Linked DNA regions of Homo sapiens: all the other regions are linked to region 1. Evidence: promoter capture Hi-C in 16 types of primary human blood cells and fetal thymus (Javierre and others, 2016). All regions are on one chromosome and are shown on one strand. Each heading gives the region's core, a stretch centred on a gene start or on the middle of the fragment in contact. The rest is flanking DNA. Distances are from core to core; before and after follow the strand shown. Region 1 holds the start of SMG6 (SMG6 nonsense mediated mRNA decay factor). Region 2 overlaps SMG6 (SMG6 nonsense mediated mRNA decay factor). Region 3 overlaps SMG6 (SMG6 nonsense mediated mRNA decay factor). Region 4 overlaps SMG6 (SMG6 nonsense mediated mRNA decay factor).

The links. The method cuts DNA at HindIII sites, captures the fragments that hold promoters and counts their contacts. A CHiCAGO score of 5 or more calls a contact.
Region 2: a contact is called between a fragment that was not itself captured here and the fragment with the promoter of SMG6 in region 1, in 2 of 17 cell types (naive CD8 T cells and activated CD4 T cells). The highest score is 5.4, in naive CD8 T cells.
Region 3: a fragment that was not itself captured here is called in contact with the fragment with the promoter of SMG6 in region 1 in 2 of 17 cell types (activated CD4 T cells and non-activated CD4 T cells); the score reaches 6.0 in activated CD4 T cells.
Region 4: a fragment that was not itself captured here is called in contact with the fragment with the promoter of SMG6 in region 1 in 3 of 17 cell types (activated CD4 T cells, naive CD8 T cells and non-activated CD4 T cells); the score reaches 6.4 in activated CD4 T cells.

Annotation. Positions count from the first base shown.
Region 1 is chr17:2,301,996-2,305,550 of GRCh38, reverse strand. SMG6 (SMG6 nonsense mediated mRNA decay factor) reads left to right here and starts at 1,766. Exons shown (of 19, transcript NM_017575.5): 1 at 1,766-1,918. The coding sequence starts at 1,831. It overlaps SRR (serine racemase), which reads right to left and starts at 1,601. Exons shown (of 8, transcript NM_021947.3): 1 at 1,534-1,601. RefSeq lists silencers at 1,517-1,736, 1,927-2,136 and enhancers at 1,638-2,364, 2,694-3,508. The HindIII fragment of the contact is 10,069 bases long and covers 1-3,555 here.
Region 2 is chr17:2,122,431-2,125,985 of GRCh38, reverse strand. The region is part of intron 13 of SMG6 (SMG6 nonsense mediated mRNA decay factor); the gene reads left to right. Among named protein-coding and RNA genes, the nearest start is that of SMG6-AS1, 34 kb to the right of the region's middle. RefSeq lists enhancers at 2,033-2,082, 3,288-3,347. The HindIII fragment of the contact is 5,768 bases long and covers 1-3,555 here.
Region 3 is chr17:2,138,357-2,141,911 of GRCh38, reverse strand. The region is part of intron 13 of SMG6 (SMG6 nonsense mediated mRNA decay factor); the gene reads left to right. Among named protein-coding and RNA genes, the nearest start is that of SMG6-AS1, 50 kb to the right of the region's middle. RefSeq lists an enhancer at 2,694-2,893 and a silencer at 3,314-3,513. The HindIII fragment of the contact is 3,635 bases long and covers 35-3,555 here.
Region 4 is chr17:2,160,546-2,164,100 of GRCh38, reverse strand. All of the region lies in intron 13 of SMG6 (SMG6 nonsense mediated mRNA decay factor), which reads left to right. Among named protein-coding and RNA genes, the nearest start is that of SMG6-AS1, 73 kb to the right of the region's middle. The HindIII fragment of the contact is 5,496 bases long and covers 1-3,555 here.

The DNA of each region.
Region 1 (3,555 bases), core at 517-3,016:
TTGCTCTTCTGCAGTCAGCTGTATTATCCCCTTCTGGAACTCGTATTTAATTATTAATTTTTTGTACCCCTTCTCCATGTCTCCTATCTTTGTCTCTCAGTTTTTATCTATTACCTTTTCCTTCTGAGTTCTGGTAAATTTTCTTGAACTGGTTTAACTTTTGGCATATCTAATCTGCAGTTCACTGACACTGTTGCATTAAATGGGTGGTGCCATTTGTCCTAAGAAAGTTTTCTTGTTTTCCATTATTTTTCCAGCTGAAAAAAGAAATCATGCAATGGCCTCTCAAATTTCAATATGAAACAGATTATTTTTTAACGCTTCTTCCTATTTCTCTCAAATCTGGTGGCAAAGGCTGTCTTCTGCTCTGACCACTCAAATGGTTCCTCTTCTGAACTGTTGGATCTTTTCACCCATCATCTACTGACTTTCTTCTTATGCTTAACCTTCCGGTGACAAAGTGTCACGTAAAAGGAACTGAAGGAGTTCTGTCAGAGGTTGTGGCAATCCCTTCGGCTCAGACTAAGGAATAATTGGTAACTATTCTGTGATGGGTGTGGGGTAAAAGCCTATGGGGCTGTGGAGGGGCAACAGGTGGAGGCAGGAGGCCTTGGGGAAGGGAGCTTCACCTCTGTACAGTTCTCCAAAAAAAGATTCAAGTACCAGCCTTCTGGTATAGTTCAATTTTAAAGATGGGAAATTAAAAAGTCAACCTGAGATCCACAGCAGTAATTTTTTTCAAGAATCCATAGTGACACAGAAATTCCCAAATTGACTTTTTTTTTTTTTTGAGGCGGAGTCTCGCTCTGTTGGAGACTCCCGGGCTGGAGTGCAGTGGCGCGATCTCGGCTCACTGCAGTCTCCGCCTCCCGGGTTCAAGCGATCCGCCCGTCTCAGCGTTCCGAGTCGCCGGGATTACAGGTCCCAAATGGACTTATATGCCTCCTGATGTACTTCCTTCCACACGATTCCAACTATATCGTATCTAGTTTTTAAAAGTCAGGGGGCGGCCGGGCGCGGTGGCTCACGCCTGTAATCCCAGCACTTTGGGAGGCCGACGCGGGTGGATCACCTGAGGTCAGGAGTTCGAGACCAGCCTAGTGAAACCCCGTCTCTACAAAAAATACAAAAATTAGCCGGGCTTGGTGGCGTGCACCTGTAATCCCAGCTACTAGGGAGGCTGAGGCAGGAGAATCGCTTGAATCCAGGAGGCAGAGGTTGCAGTGAGCCGAGACCGCGCCACTGCACTCCAGCCCGGGAGTCTCCAACAGAGCGAGACTCCAACTAAAAAAAAAAGGGAATAGTAACAACTACTCTTAGCAGATCTTCAAGGTCCCAAGTAATGGCCCGCGGCGCTAGGCCGGGCCTGTGGCGGGAGAGCCTGGCCTAAGGTGTCCAGAGGAGCCCAGGCTGAGGGGTGTCTCTGTCAACCCGAGTCCCAGACTAGCAGTGTCCTTGGTGTCCACGACAACAGCAACGGCAGCCACCGCCGCAAACGCCCGCCTGGCCTGGCACGGCCCGGCCTCGCCTCACCTCAGCTCACCGGCGCCGCGCCTCCAGCTCCAGCCTCCGCGCGCCTCCCCGGCCGCACCTCTGCGCACGCGCAGCGCCCGCCCGCCCCACCCAGGCTCTCGCTCCGGTCCCGCCCCTCTGGAACCGGCGGCGGGCGCTTTTCCTCCCAGCGCGGCCACCGTCGTTCGGAAAGGGAGGGCGGCAGGGGGCGGGGAAAGGCCGGGAGGTGGGCGAGCGCGCGCGCCGCCCGTCTGTGGTGGTTTCCTGGCTGCGCGCGGCGGTGGCGGAGCCGCTACGGCTGTAGCAGCAGCCGCGAAGATGGCGGAAGGGCTGGAGCGTGTGCGGATCTCCGCGTCGGAGCTGCGCGGGATCCTGGCTACTCTGGCCCCGCAGGCCGGGAGCAGAGGTGAGTCGCGCCGCCCAGCTCCTGGGCCGGGCCTGCCCGCCCCGCCTCCCTCTCCTCCTCCTCTGCCTCCTCCCCGCTCGGCCCTCGGCTCCGGAGCCCCCGCCCCTTCCCCCAGCAGTAGGCGCTGGGGCCGCGGCGGACCCTCGCTGCCCTACCTCTCTCGCGGGTTAGTGCGGGGTCGGGCTCGGCCAGTCCTGGCCAGCTCCGGGAGAGCCTGGCCCGAATTCCTGCCTCCACCCTCTTTCTCGCCGCGAAGGTGACTGTTCCTTTTGCCCCAGCCCTCTCAGACCCGCCCCGGATTCCCAGGCATCGGGAGACGCGGAAAGGAGTGGGGTCTGGTGGAGGCCCCGGGCGTATCGCTCTCCAGGCCGCCCTCCGCGGGCCTGCCCCGGCCACCGCTTTAACGTCGGAGAGAAGGAATTGGGGAGAAAGGTTTAAGAGCCTGCGACTTCGTTGCTGAACTTTTCCCCCCCAAGACAGGCTTCCGAAAGCTGCGCCACTGGAGGGATCCGGGACCTCAGACTACTCGGGTTTGGCCCTGGCATGTGTGGGAGCAGTTTTTATTAGAGAGAATGCTCAATTTGCAAGTTAATTTCAAGTCTCCAGCCACGTCAGGAAAGTAAGAAAGATTCTAAGTGTCTCACCTCTCCTGCGTTAGGCAATAGAGTTGTGTAGAATGGTAGCTGTGATAGGTGCCTTCTCTAGGTTTGCGGCCAGTCTGTGAAATTGGTTTTTGTTGATTAACATAATTGGATTATTAAGGCTATTTTCTCCCGCTGCTCTAGAAAGTAGTAGGAATAGCTTTCCCCATCCCCCCGCCCCCCACCAAGTTACAGACTGCCGAGGGTGAGCTATTCTTGGGTTAAACTGCTTTATCTTTGTGGATACTTCATGAACCTACCTTTTAAACTTATGAAAATAGTGAAGCACTATCCAAAACCTCAGTCTCTTTTCTTCCCCTTTTCCTTACACCTACAAACAGTAAATGTACTTGCTGGAGCATATGATTCCTGTTTTGGGCTTGTTTCCATTTATATTTAGAGAGCAATACTAGGATTAAAAACTTTTTTATTGTTGTTATTATTATTTTTTGAGACGGAGTCTAGCTCTGTCGCCCAGGCTGGAGTGCAGTGGCGCGATCTCTGCTCACTGCAACCTCCGCCTCCCGGGTTCACGCCATTCTCCTACCTCAGCCTCCCCAGTAGCTTGGACTGTAGGCGTGTGCCACCACGCCTGGCTAATTTTTTGTATTTTTGTAGTGACGGGGTTTCTCCGTGTTGGCCAGGATGGTCTGGACTCCTGTCCTCGTGATCCGCCCGCCTTGGCCTCCCAAAGTGCTGGGATTACAGGCGTGAGCCACCGTGCCCGGCCAATTTTTTTGAGGCAGGGTCTCACTCTGTCTTCCAGGCTGGAGTGCAGTGGAGGGATCTCAGCTCACTGTAGCCTCCCCCTCCTGTGCTCAAGTGATCCTCCCACCTCAGCCTTCCGAGTAGCTGGAATTACAGACCTGCACCACCACACCTGGCTATTTTTTGTATACGTTATAGAGACAGGGTGTTGCCATGTTGCCCAGGCTGATCTCGAACTCCTGGCCTCAAGCAGTCCTCCCGCCTCAGCCTCCCAAAGTGCTGGGATTA
Region 2 (3,555 bases), core at 764-3,263, 180 kb after region 1:
AAGATTCCATATGATTTTTTTTTTTTTTTTTTTGAGATGGGTTCTCACTCCATCTCCCAGGCTGGAGTGCAGTGGCACAATGTCAGCTCACTGCAACCTCTGCCTCTCAGGTTCAAGCGATTCTTGTGCCTCAGCCTCCCAAGTACCTGGGATTACAGGCATGCGCCACCACACCCAGCTGATTTTTGTATTTTTAGTATAGACGGTGTTTTGCCATGTTGACCAGGCTGGTCTCCAACTCCTGACCTCAAGCAATCTGCCCGCTTTGGCCTCCCAGAGTGCTGGGACTACTGGCATGAGCCATTGCATCCAGCTAGATTCCATATGAATTTTAAGATGTTTTTATGGATCTGTGGAAAATGCCATTGGGATTTTGATAGGAACTGCATTGAATCTGTAGATTGCTTTGGTTACTGTAGTCAGCTTAACAATATTAAGTCTTCCAATTCATGAACATAGAATGTTTTTCCATTTATTGGAACTCCGTTTTTAATTATATTCAATTTTAGGAAATTTAAATTTGTTTGGCCATATTGTAGCTAATCATCATCCTATTGGCCAGCAAGCCCAAGAGAATTATCCTCAGATTTTCTTTTCTTCCTAAATCGTAGGATCGTAGTGACGTCTTCAGAGGCCTTGTAGTATCTGAATCATCATTGGTCTCAGGATGTCTGGATTGTATGGAATGCATGGTTAGAAGGGTGAATAAATAGGGGGTTTCGGTCCCTCCAGGTTATCTCTGTCTCGGAGATATGAGAGGGCTACAAGTCTTGCCACATCAGACCCTGTCTCCTTCTCTATTTTCCCTTTGGAAATGTCTGTTTTTCTCCAGAGCCAAAGAGAACCTCTTGTTTTCCAAAAAATTAGCAAAAAGTAGACTCTGCTCTGGCAGGAATGGAACTCCTTCTGCCTCTTCCTATTTCCATAGAAGAAGAGACCATAGTGCCCCAAATGAGGTGTTTTTAAAAGAAATTCCTTCTCCAAATGGAGATGCTGATTATTTTATAGCAGCGTATGTACCTTGTTCATCATTCTGATGGGGTTCTCATGGGAACAGCAACAAAAAATGCCTTTCGGTGCCAATCATGGTTGTGCTCCCAATTGCATTTTCCTTGAGGGTCAGCAGTCTAAGAGATGCCTGCACGTTAGAAACAAAAAATAAAGAATAAACGCTGTAAATAATTAATTAAACCAGGAAACCCCCTTTCAGTGTCCATTCGTTTTTCTGCCATGTAAGAAGTAATGGTAGGATGCGGAAGACCTGTGTCCTTAGTACTGTTCCGTCTCCCTGCTGCCCCTTCCCCAGCTTCTCTCTAATGACTCCCCGGGGAGATCACAGGTCTCAGAGTAAACAGGAAACCTGACTAAGTAAAATAGGGAGTCTTAGAGCCTAGAGGGTAAGAGACACAGCTCTCCAGGAAGAAGATGCCTTTGGCCTTGGACAGCCAGGAGCAGTGGGTTTGTGGGGTTTTATATAAACACTCTGTTACGACTCTCTGCGGAGGAACCCTCCAATCCACTTTAGGCCAGAAATGGAACTTTGTTCCCTGGCCTGCCCATGACTACTCTACATCAGTCTCTCCTGAAAAGAGGCTAGAATATTACTTGTGTATTCAGAATTGGACTAACCCAGTAGTTAGCCAGTTCGCTAAAACTGATTTCTCTACCTTACTGCCCTGTGGCCTGTACCCCACCCTTATTGTCACCCCTTTCTTTGTACAGAGATAACTTCTTTACTGTAGCATTTGGGATTTCCCACACTACAGTTGATCTGTCACCGCACTACCAAAATGCCTCTGCCAACCACTTGGGTGTCCTGGTGTCAGAAGTTAGAAGTGCCCCAACTGTCCCACCCAGCCTGCTCAGCTCTCCTCTCTCTCTCCTGGGTTGTTGTTCTGGAATGATATTCCTCTTGGATTCAGTGTGTGCAGTCTGATTTGGGTGGAGCCTTGAGCTGTACACAGGAGTGCTGGTAATGTCTGGCCTTCAGTGCTGCCAAAGGCAAGAAGCTGGCCTCTCAGTGTAAAGCACATAGTTGGATTGCTGGGGCAGTGTTAAATGGAGGGTGGGGTGAGCAGATAGCACTCTCTTCCTGCTCTGTTTTCAGGAAGTGATTATAAAAGCAGCTCTAAGTTTGAATGAAATCAAAAGAATGAATTGTCACCTTCCCCCAACAAAAACCAGATGAGCACAAACATATACACAAACACACTCCTCCTCTGCACTCCATCCAAGATCCACACCCTGGCTCTGCCGGGCTTCACTTCGGTGCTATTTCAGAGCAAAGAGCCTTTGTTGTGCCATCTCCATTCTCTTCCCTGGGAGAGAGCTTAGTAGTCTTATGAATGAGAGCTCGACTTCCCTTTTGGCATACTGTGGGTTTCACTTCCCTGTCCTCTCTCCTTCCAAGAAGAGTGTGGGCAGAAGTGTATAGGTGGGAGGAATAACCATTGCCAAGATTTAATTCATCAGTTAGGGATTGGGGTTTCAGAACTGGTAATAAAATTGTTTGCAGTTAATTGTCAATGAAAGGAGTTTCTGTGCCGTTAACACACTTCCATTCCTTCCTTCCAGCTGCCTCTTTCCGTCGTACTGCCTTTTTCCTGGTACCTCCATGGGGTTTAAGCCATATGGCTCTTAGGAATATCGTTTGGAGTCTCCAGAAGTGGAAGATTTGGCTGTGCAGCACACAGCACCCCTGGGTCTACTCCTCCCCTCCCCTCTCAGCAGCTGTTTGCCACTGACCGAGGTGGCGACCAAGCCTATGTGTGTGGCCAGAGTCAGTGACAAGCCTCCCACCCAGGCCTGGGGAAGCCCTTAGCCAGCGCGGTTCCTGAGGCAGCCGCCAACACGCCAGGGTTTCCTCATACCTTCAGGGCTGCGGTGGAGCAGCCAGCGTTATGCGGCAGCATTGTCTAGCGTTGCTTCACTTGACTTCTCTGTCCCCACCCTCTGTGTTTAAGGGAATCTGGCCATCATCCAGCAGGGAAGAAGCTGGCATTTACAGAGAGTGGCTTTCTGCCACCCCTCATGTGGTAGGAGCCAGGACCACCTCCATCTCTGCTTCCTACCCATGTGGCAAAGAGGAAGGGGCCCCTCTGTGCTCAGTCTCCTGTTGTGGAGTTTCGAGTTGCCTAAGATGAGAATAAGGCTGTCTGCCAGGTTATCTGCCCAGATAAACATTTATTGTTTACAGGGACATGTTTCAGCTGCTCTGGCACCTCCCACTGGTGAGATCCTCTAGTATCTTGAGGTTTTAAGCCAGTATATGGGGCCGACGTCCAGACACAGAACTACTGGAGCTGGAGAGGCTAAGTGGCTCGCGGCTTCTAACTTAGCTTCGCCATTGCCCCCCGCCCCGCTTCCCACTGCCAGAGCTAGATTTACATCTCTTGTTCTTAGTTCTGCCTCCTGGATATTGAAGCTGCATCTACATTTTAAACCTTTCTAGCCTTTAGAATTTGGGGATTTATATGCGATCCAGTGTTAGGACACAGCAAGCTGAAGACTTCTTTTACATGGCAAAACCAGCCCTCTGACACTGTGTTTTCCTTA
Region 3 (3,555 bases), core at 603-3,102, 160 kb after region 1:
GATTGATTACAAAGGAACCATGGAGTTAAAAGCTTCCTTAGAAGACATCAGGGCCAGTCTCTTATCTAATGAAAAAATAGTCCTCCAGTTTTCTCAATGGCCTCTGCTCCAGATGCTTCCCCAGAATTTACTCTATTATGAGACAGTCACTATAAAAAGTTCCTCCTCAGGCTGAGTGAGGTGGCTTGTGCCTGTCATCTCAGCACTTTGGGAGGCCAAGGTAGGAGGAGCACTTGAGCCCAGGAGTTCAAGACCAGCCATGCAACATAGCAAGACCCTGCCTCTGCAAAAAAATTTTTTAAAAATTAGCGGGTATGGTGTGCACACCTGTGGTCCTAGCCATTCAAGTGGCTGAGGCAGGAGGATCACTTGAGCCCAGGATTTCAAGGTTACAGTGAGCTGTGATTGTGCCACTGCACTCCAGCCTGGGTGACAGAGCAAGACCGCATCTCTAAGAAAAAAAAGTTCCTTCTCAAACTGAACACAGCCTGCCTTCCTGTAATTCCCACTTAATGATTTTTTAAAAGTTTTCTCAAAATCACAAAGTCTGTTTTTTCTATATCTGACACACCTTAGTTATACTTGAAATTCTCTTTACGTTTTCTTTTCTCTAAGCTAAACAAACCAGTGCAATCAAATAGATTCTTGGCCAGTGCTGCGAAATATTATAGGACTTTATGTAATGATGCAGTGTTTAGTACTGTAATGATGGAAAGTTACTATTTCCACACCATCCTCTATGGTAGCCACTGGCCACATGTGACTTTTGAATACTTGAAATGTGGCTAGTGCAACCGAAAAACAAATCTTAATGTAGTTAAATTGAAATATCCACATGTGGCTAGTGGCTACTGTATTAAACACTGCAATTCTAGATCATTCTCCTGGCCAGATTTCTCTGTGCCATTACCAGCAGCATCAGATTCACCTGGGAACTTGTAATGTTTTAGGCCCTACCTCAGCCTTTTGAATCATAAACAGTTGAGGGTGGAGCCCAGCAGGCTCATTTAACAAGCTCTCCAGGTGATTCCAATGCACTAATACTTGAAAGGCAATTCCAGTTTGTCAAGGCTTCTGTAAAAAGCAGTGCTCAGACAAGGTCTGACATGCATGGATTTCACCTAAAGACAGCTTCAATGGCTTTTTTTTTTAATTGAATACTACTTTCTAAATATTGCATTGACTGCATGTTATAAAAATGAATACAATGTGGATATGAAGAATTTTTTTTTTTTTTTTTGAGATGGAATCTCACTCTGTCACCCAGGCTGGAGTGCAGTGGTGCAATCTCGGCTCACTGCAACCTCCGCCTCCCAGGTTCAAGCGATTCTCCTGCCTCAGCCTCCCAAGTAGCTGGGACAACAGGTGCGTGCTACCACACCCGGCTGATTTTTTTGCATTTTTAGTAGAGACAGGATTTCACCATGCTAGCCAGGATGGTCTTGATCTCCTGACCTCAGGATCCACCCACCTTGGCCTCCCAAAGTATTGGGATTACAGGTGTGAGCCATCGTACCCGGCCTGGATATGAAGAATTTAAAAAAATAAAGTGTCAGGCCAGGTGCAGTGGCTTACGCCTGTAACCCCAGCACTTTGGGAGGCTGAGGCATGCAGATCACTTGATATCAGGAGACCAGCTTAGGCAGCATGGCAAAACCCCATCTCTACTAAAAGTACAAAAACTAGTTGGGCATGGTTGCACATGCCTGTGGTCCCAGCTACTTGGGAGTTTGAGGTGGGAGGATCACTGGAGCCTGGGAGGCGGAGGTTGCAGTGAGCCGAGGTCTCACTACTGCACTCCAGCATGGGTGACAGAGTGAGACCCTGTCTCAAAAATAAAGTGCCCCTTAACAGTTTAAAAAAAATTAGTTAACAGGCAGTTTCCCAGCTGGGCGTGGTGGCTCACGCCTGTAATCCCAGCACTTTGGGAGGCTGAGGTGGGAGGATCACATGAGCTCAGGAATTCGAGAGCAGCCTGGGCAACATGGTGAAATCCCATCTCTACTAAAAATACAAAAATTAGCCGGGTATGGTGGCATGCGCCTGTAATCCCAGCTACTTGGGAGGCTGAGGCAGGAGAATCGCTCAAACTCAGGAGGTAGAGGTGACAGTGAGCCAAGATCACACCACTGCACTCCAGCCTGGGTGACAGAGCGAAACTCCATCTCAAAAAAAAAATTTGTTTGTTAAATGTCTTGGCACAGTGGCTCACACCTGTAGTCCCAGCACTTTGGGAACCAAGGCAGACAGATCACTTGCGGTCAGGAGTTCAAGACCAGCCTGGCCAACATGGCGAAACCCCGTCTCTACTAAAAATACAAAATTAGCCAGGCATGGTGGCGCACGCCTGTGATCCCAGCTCCTTGGGAAGTTGAGGCTGGAGAATCGCTTGATGCCGGGAGGCCAAGGGTGCAGTGAGCTGAGATCGCGCCACTGCACTCCAGCCTGGGTGACAGAGTGAGACTCCATCTCAAAAAAAAAAAAAAGAAAAAAGCAGGCACTTTTCCATAAGTTTCACACGGTCTTATAGTACTAGAACCCTGAGCTCTTGATTGTCAGTCTGGCGTGCTTTCCATCTCTTAGGCTGTTTGGTGAAATAGGCCTCACTGTTTGGTTTGGTGTCTCCCAGAAGAGAAAAATCTGGTTCCTTGGCATTTATTTTACCTACCCCATTTGGGGGCTGTTTCTTCTGCCTTTTCTTGCACAACTTCCCCATTGTTAGATGCCTCTGTAGTCACTCCCAATACCCTGGAAACATCTCCCTTTTTTAGGGTTTAACAGACTTCACCTGTATAGTTACTGTCTTTTAATATGACTTTCGTCCTCTTATGCTTGAAACCTAGAAGAGGAGCTGGCTTGTTCTGCTGGCCTTGAGCCAGATGTCATAACTTCAGGCAGTGCCACGCTACACATCTCCAGCAGTTTGGAATGGAGAACAGAGTTAGAGATAAGATCAGCAGCTTTAGGTGATGGCTTTGTTTCAAATAAACCATGCATGACCCAAGCCTCCACTTCAAATGGGGAATGAAATTGCTTTATCCTTTGACAGCTTGCTCTATGAAATACATTTATCTTCACTTAATTGCTTTAGATCCCAAGAGGCTACATACAGTAATTTCTAGGAGATAATTATATCAAATTTTAAAAATATGTGACTGTGGACATGAATATGTAACTGCAGTGGACAGGGAGGGAGAGAGGTGGGGGAAACCAAAAGTCCTGCTGACCTTGCTGGTAAGTTTCCATTCTTATTCTTAGAGTTTCCTTGGGTCATAGACCACTTACTCTCTGAATCTGCTGATTCATATGTGGGGTCCTTTGTACCCCATGCTGCTAGGGTTAAAGCATCTGGTCTACTACTCCTGTAGCTGGATAGTGTTTTGCTCAGTCTCCTCCTGAAACTGGGAGGGGTCAGGCTGGTGGCTGACTTCCGGTTATATGTCTTCATTTAGTCTGGCTGGGCACAGTCTGTCTACACTGTAGGCCACAGCCACTGGGGGTTCTGGTTAGTGGCAGCTGAGAACCAGCAAACTTGTTGATTTTAAAACATGACTA
Region 4 (3,555 bases), core at 489-2,988, 140 kb after region 1:
CAATAGGGTTTCACCCTGTCATTGTCGTCCTTGTTTTCTGAGACAGAGTTTTTCTCTGTCGCCCAGGCTGGAGTGCAGTAACGTGATCTAGACCCACTGCAACCTCCGTCTTCTTGGTTCAAGCGATTCTCCTGCCTCAGCCTCTTGAGTAGCTGGGACTACAAGCACCTGCCACCACACCGGCTAATTTTTGTATTTTTAGTGGAGATGAGGTTTCACCCTGTTGCCCAGGCTGGTCGCGAACTCCTGACCTCAAGTGATCTGCTGCCCTCAGCCTTAGAGAATAAACAACTACATAACCACCAAGCAAGCAGCTCAAGAAACAGAATAAGATAAGGGCGGTGAGTTACCAGTTCCATTCAGTCTGTGTTGGTCCTAGTCAGTACAGTAAGACGTGAAAAAAAAAAAAATGAAGTATTAATAAGACTGTTGGAAGGGAAAAAATAAAGCTGTTTTTATTTGTAGATAATAACATGATACATTTAGAAAATCCCCAAAAAGCATAAATTATTAGAATTATTCTCATAATAAGTAAATGTAGCAAAGTTGCTGGATATGAAGCCATTGTACAAAAATCAATCCCATATCTACATATTAGAATCAAACAAAATGAAGATTTGGTGCCTGGCACAGTGGCTCGCACCTCTAATCACAGCACTTTGGGAGGCCAAGGTGGGAGGATCACCTGAGCCCAGGAGTTCGAGACCAGCCTGGGAAACACAGCATCTCTACTAAAAATTTAAAAAATCAGCTGGGCTTGGTGGCCTCCGTCTGTGGTCCTAGCTACTTGAGAGGTTGAGGTGGGTGAATCACTTGAGCCCAGGAGGTCGAGGCTGTAGTGAGCTGTGATCATACCACTGCATTCCAGCCTGAGTGACAGAGCAAGACCCTGTCTAAAAAATAAATAAAATAATCTTTGTATTACAAAATAAATGTTCATTTAGAAATACTTTACAAATTAAGATTAGCAGCCAGGCATGTTGGCTCACACCTGTAACGCCAGTACTTCAGGAGGCTGAGGCAGGAGGATCGCTTGAGCCCAGGAGTTCAAGACCAGCCTGGGCAATATAATGAGACCTTGTCTCTATAAAAAATTAAAAAATCAGTCAGGTGTGGTGGTGTGCATCTGTAGTCCCAGCTACTTGAGAGGCTGAGGTGGGAGGATCACTTGAACCAAGGAGGCAGAGGTTGTACTCAGCCTAGATTGCACCACTGCACTCCAGCCTGGGCCACAGAGGGAGACCCTTTCTCAAAAAAAGAGAGGAAAATCAAGATTAGCAATACGGAAAAGAAAAGATTTTCTTGATCCACTACCCAGAGATAACTACTGTTTCTTGTTCCATGTTGCTGCATATGTTCCAACCTAGAAGGATGGCTGATAGGTAGATGGATGACTGGATATAAGTGAAGTTTTTTGGTTATTTGTTTATTTATTAGAGACAGGATCTCAGCTGTGTTCCTCAGGCTGGTCTTGAACTCCTGGCTTCAAGCAGTATTCCCGCCTCAGCTTCCTGAATAGCTGGGATTGCAGGTACAAACCACCATGTCCAGCACTGATTTTTTTTTTTTTTTTTTTTTTTTTTCTGAGATGGGGAGTCTCACTCTGTCGCCCAGGCTGGAGTGCAGTGGTGCAATCTGGGCTTATTGCAAGCTCCACCTCCTGGGTTCACACCATTCTCCTGCCTCAGCCTCCCGAGTAGCTGGGACTATAGGCGCCCACCACCACGCCTGGCTAATTTTTTTTATATTTTTAGTAGAGACGGGGTTTCACCATGTTAGCCAGGATGGTCTCGATCTCCTGACCTCGTGATCTGGCCGCCTCGGCCTCCCAAAGTGCTGGGATTACAGGCGTGAGCCACCTCGCCTGGCCAATTTTTGCTTTTTAACAGAAATAGAATCAAACTTTATGTTTTGTTTTGTAATGTACTTTGTTCACTTAGCAATAAATATATATTTCCATGTTTACCTATAACATGAATTTAAGAGCTGCACAATATTGTATGAATATATTATAATATTTGTTTAGTCCTCAATCATTAGATGTTTTATAGGAAGTTATTGACTTTTATCTGTTGTATAAACGATGCCATCTCAGGGAGCCTTACACATAAGTCTTTTGTTCTTACCCTTTGAGATAGTTTCTCCTTCTTAGACCTCCCTCTCTATCATTTCATAGATATTTAAAGGGACTCAGAATAGTTCCCGAGGATAAACAAAGAAGGAAAGGTTCATATGAGTGGAATAGAATGCTCAGACTGAATTTATCAGCATCTTTCCCTCTGGATTGAATGTTCTTCAAATCTTGGAATGCCCTGGATTCAAAAGCACCTCAAAGTCTAGAATTTGAGTCTTTGAAGAGAGAATTTGATTTTTTTTTTTTTTAGACAAATCCTTGAGACTTGAGAGTGCTCTGAGTGGTACTAAATGTATGTAGTCTTATCTACATCATTTAGGAGGTGTGTTCAAGGGCAAAAATATAAGAGTAGTGGCAGTGCAATGTCTGAGGACCAGAAGATCAGGACAATGTCCTGGACTCCAAACTTTGGAGGCAAGATTGCTTATAGATGAACAGTAATTAATGATGATGACTGGTATATGAAAACCTGAAGATTAGTGAGCCGAGGTCGCACCATTGCACTCCAGCCCGGGTGACAGTGTGTGAGACTCTGTCTCAAAAAAAAAAATAAATAAATAAAGGCCGGGATTGGTGGCTCATGCCTGTAATCCTAGCACTTTGAGAGGCCGAGGCAGGCTGATCAACCTGAGGTCGGGAGTTTGAGAACAGTCTGGCCAACATGATGAAACCCCATCTCTACTAAAAGTACAAAATTAGCCAGGCTTGGTGATGCACGCCTGTAATCCCAGCTACTCGGGAGGCTGAGGCAGAATTGCTTGAACCCAGGAGGCAGAGGTTGCAGTGAGCCAAGATCGCGCCCCTGCACTCCAGCCTGGGCAACCAGAGCAAAACTCCATCTCTAAAAAAAAAAAAAAAAAAGGGTCAGTTATGTGAGCATGCCTACCTGCCTAGCCTTCCTACCTACCTACCTACATACATACATACAACCTTTGTCTCAAGACTTAATAAATATAAAATTAAAATTGGTTAAGAGGAGAATGTATGATAGAAAAAGAAACTTTGATTTAAACTTCTGCCCTGGTACTTTTTGTCTCACCCTTTTTAGTTTTCTTTACTAATATAATATCATATATGTAAAAGAATATATATTTTTACTTCATAATTATATTTACTTTTATTTTATTTATTTTTTTGAGACAGGGTCTTGCCCTGTTGTCCAGGGTGGAGGGCAGTGATACAATCATGGCTCACTGCAGCCTTGACTTCCCAGGCTCAAGCAATCCTCCCACCTCAGTCCCTTGAGTAGCTGGGGACTATAGGCGCACGCCATCACACCTGGCTAATTTTTAAATTTTTTGTGGAAACGGGGTCCCACTATGTTGCCTGGGCTGGCCTTGAACTCCTAGGTTTAGGTGATCCTCCTGCCTTGGCATCCTAAAGTGCTGGAATTACAGGCATGAGCCACTGTACCCAGCCCA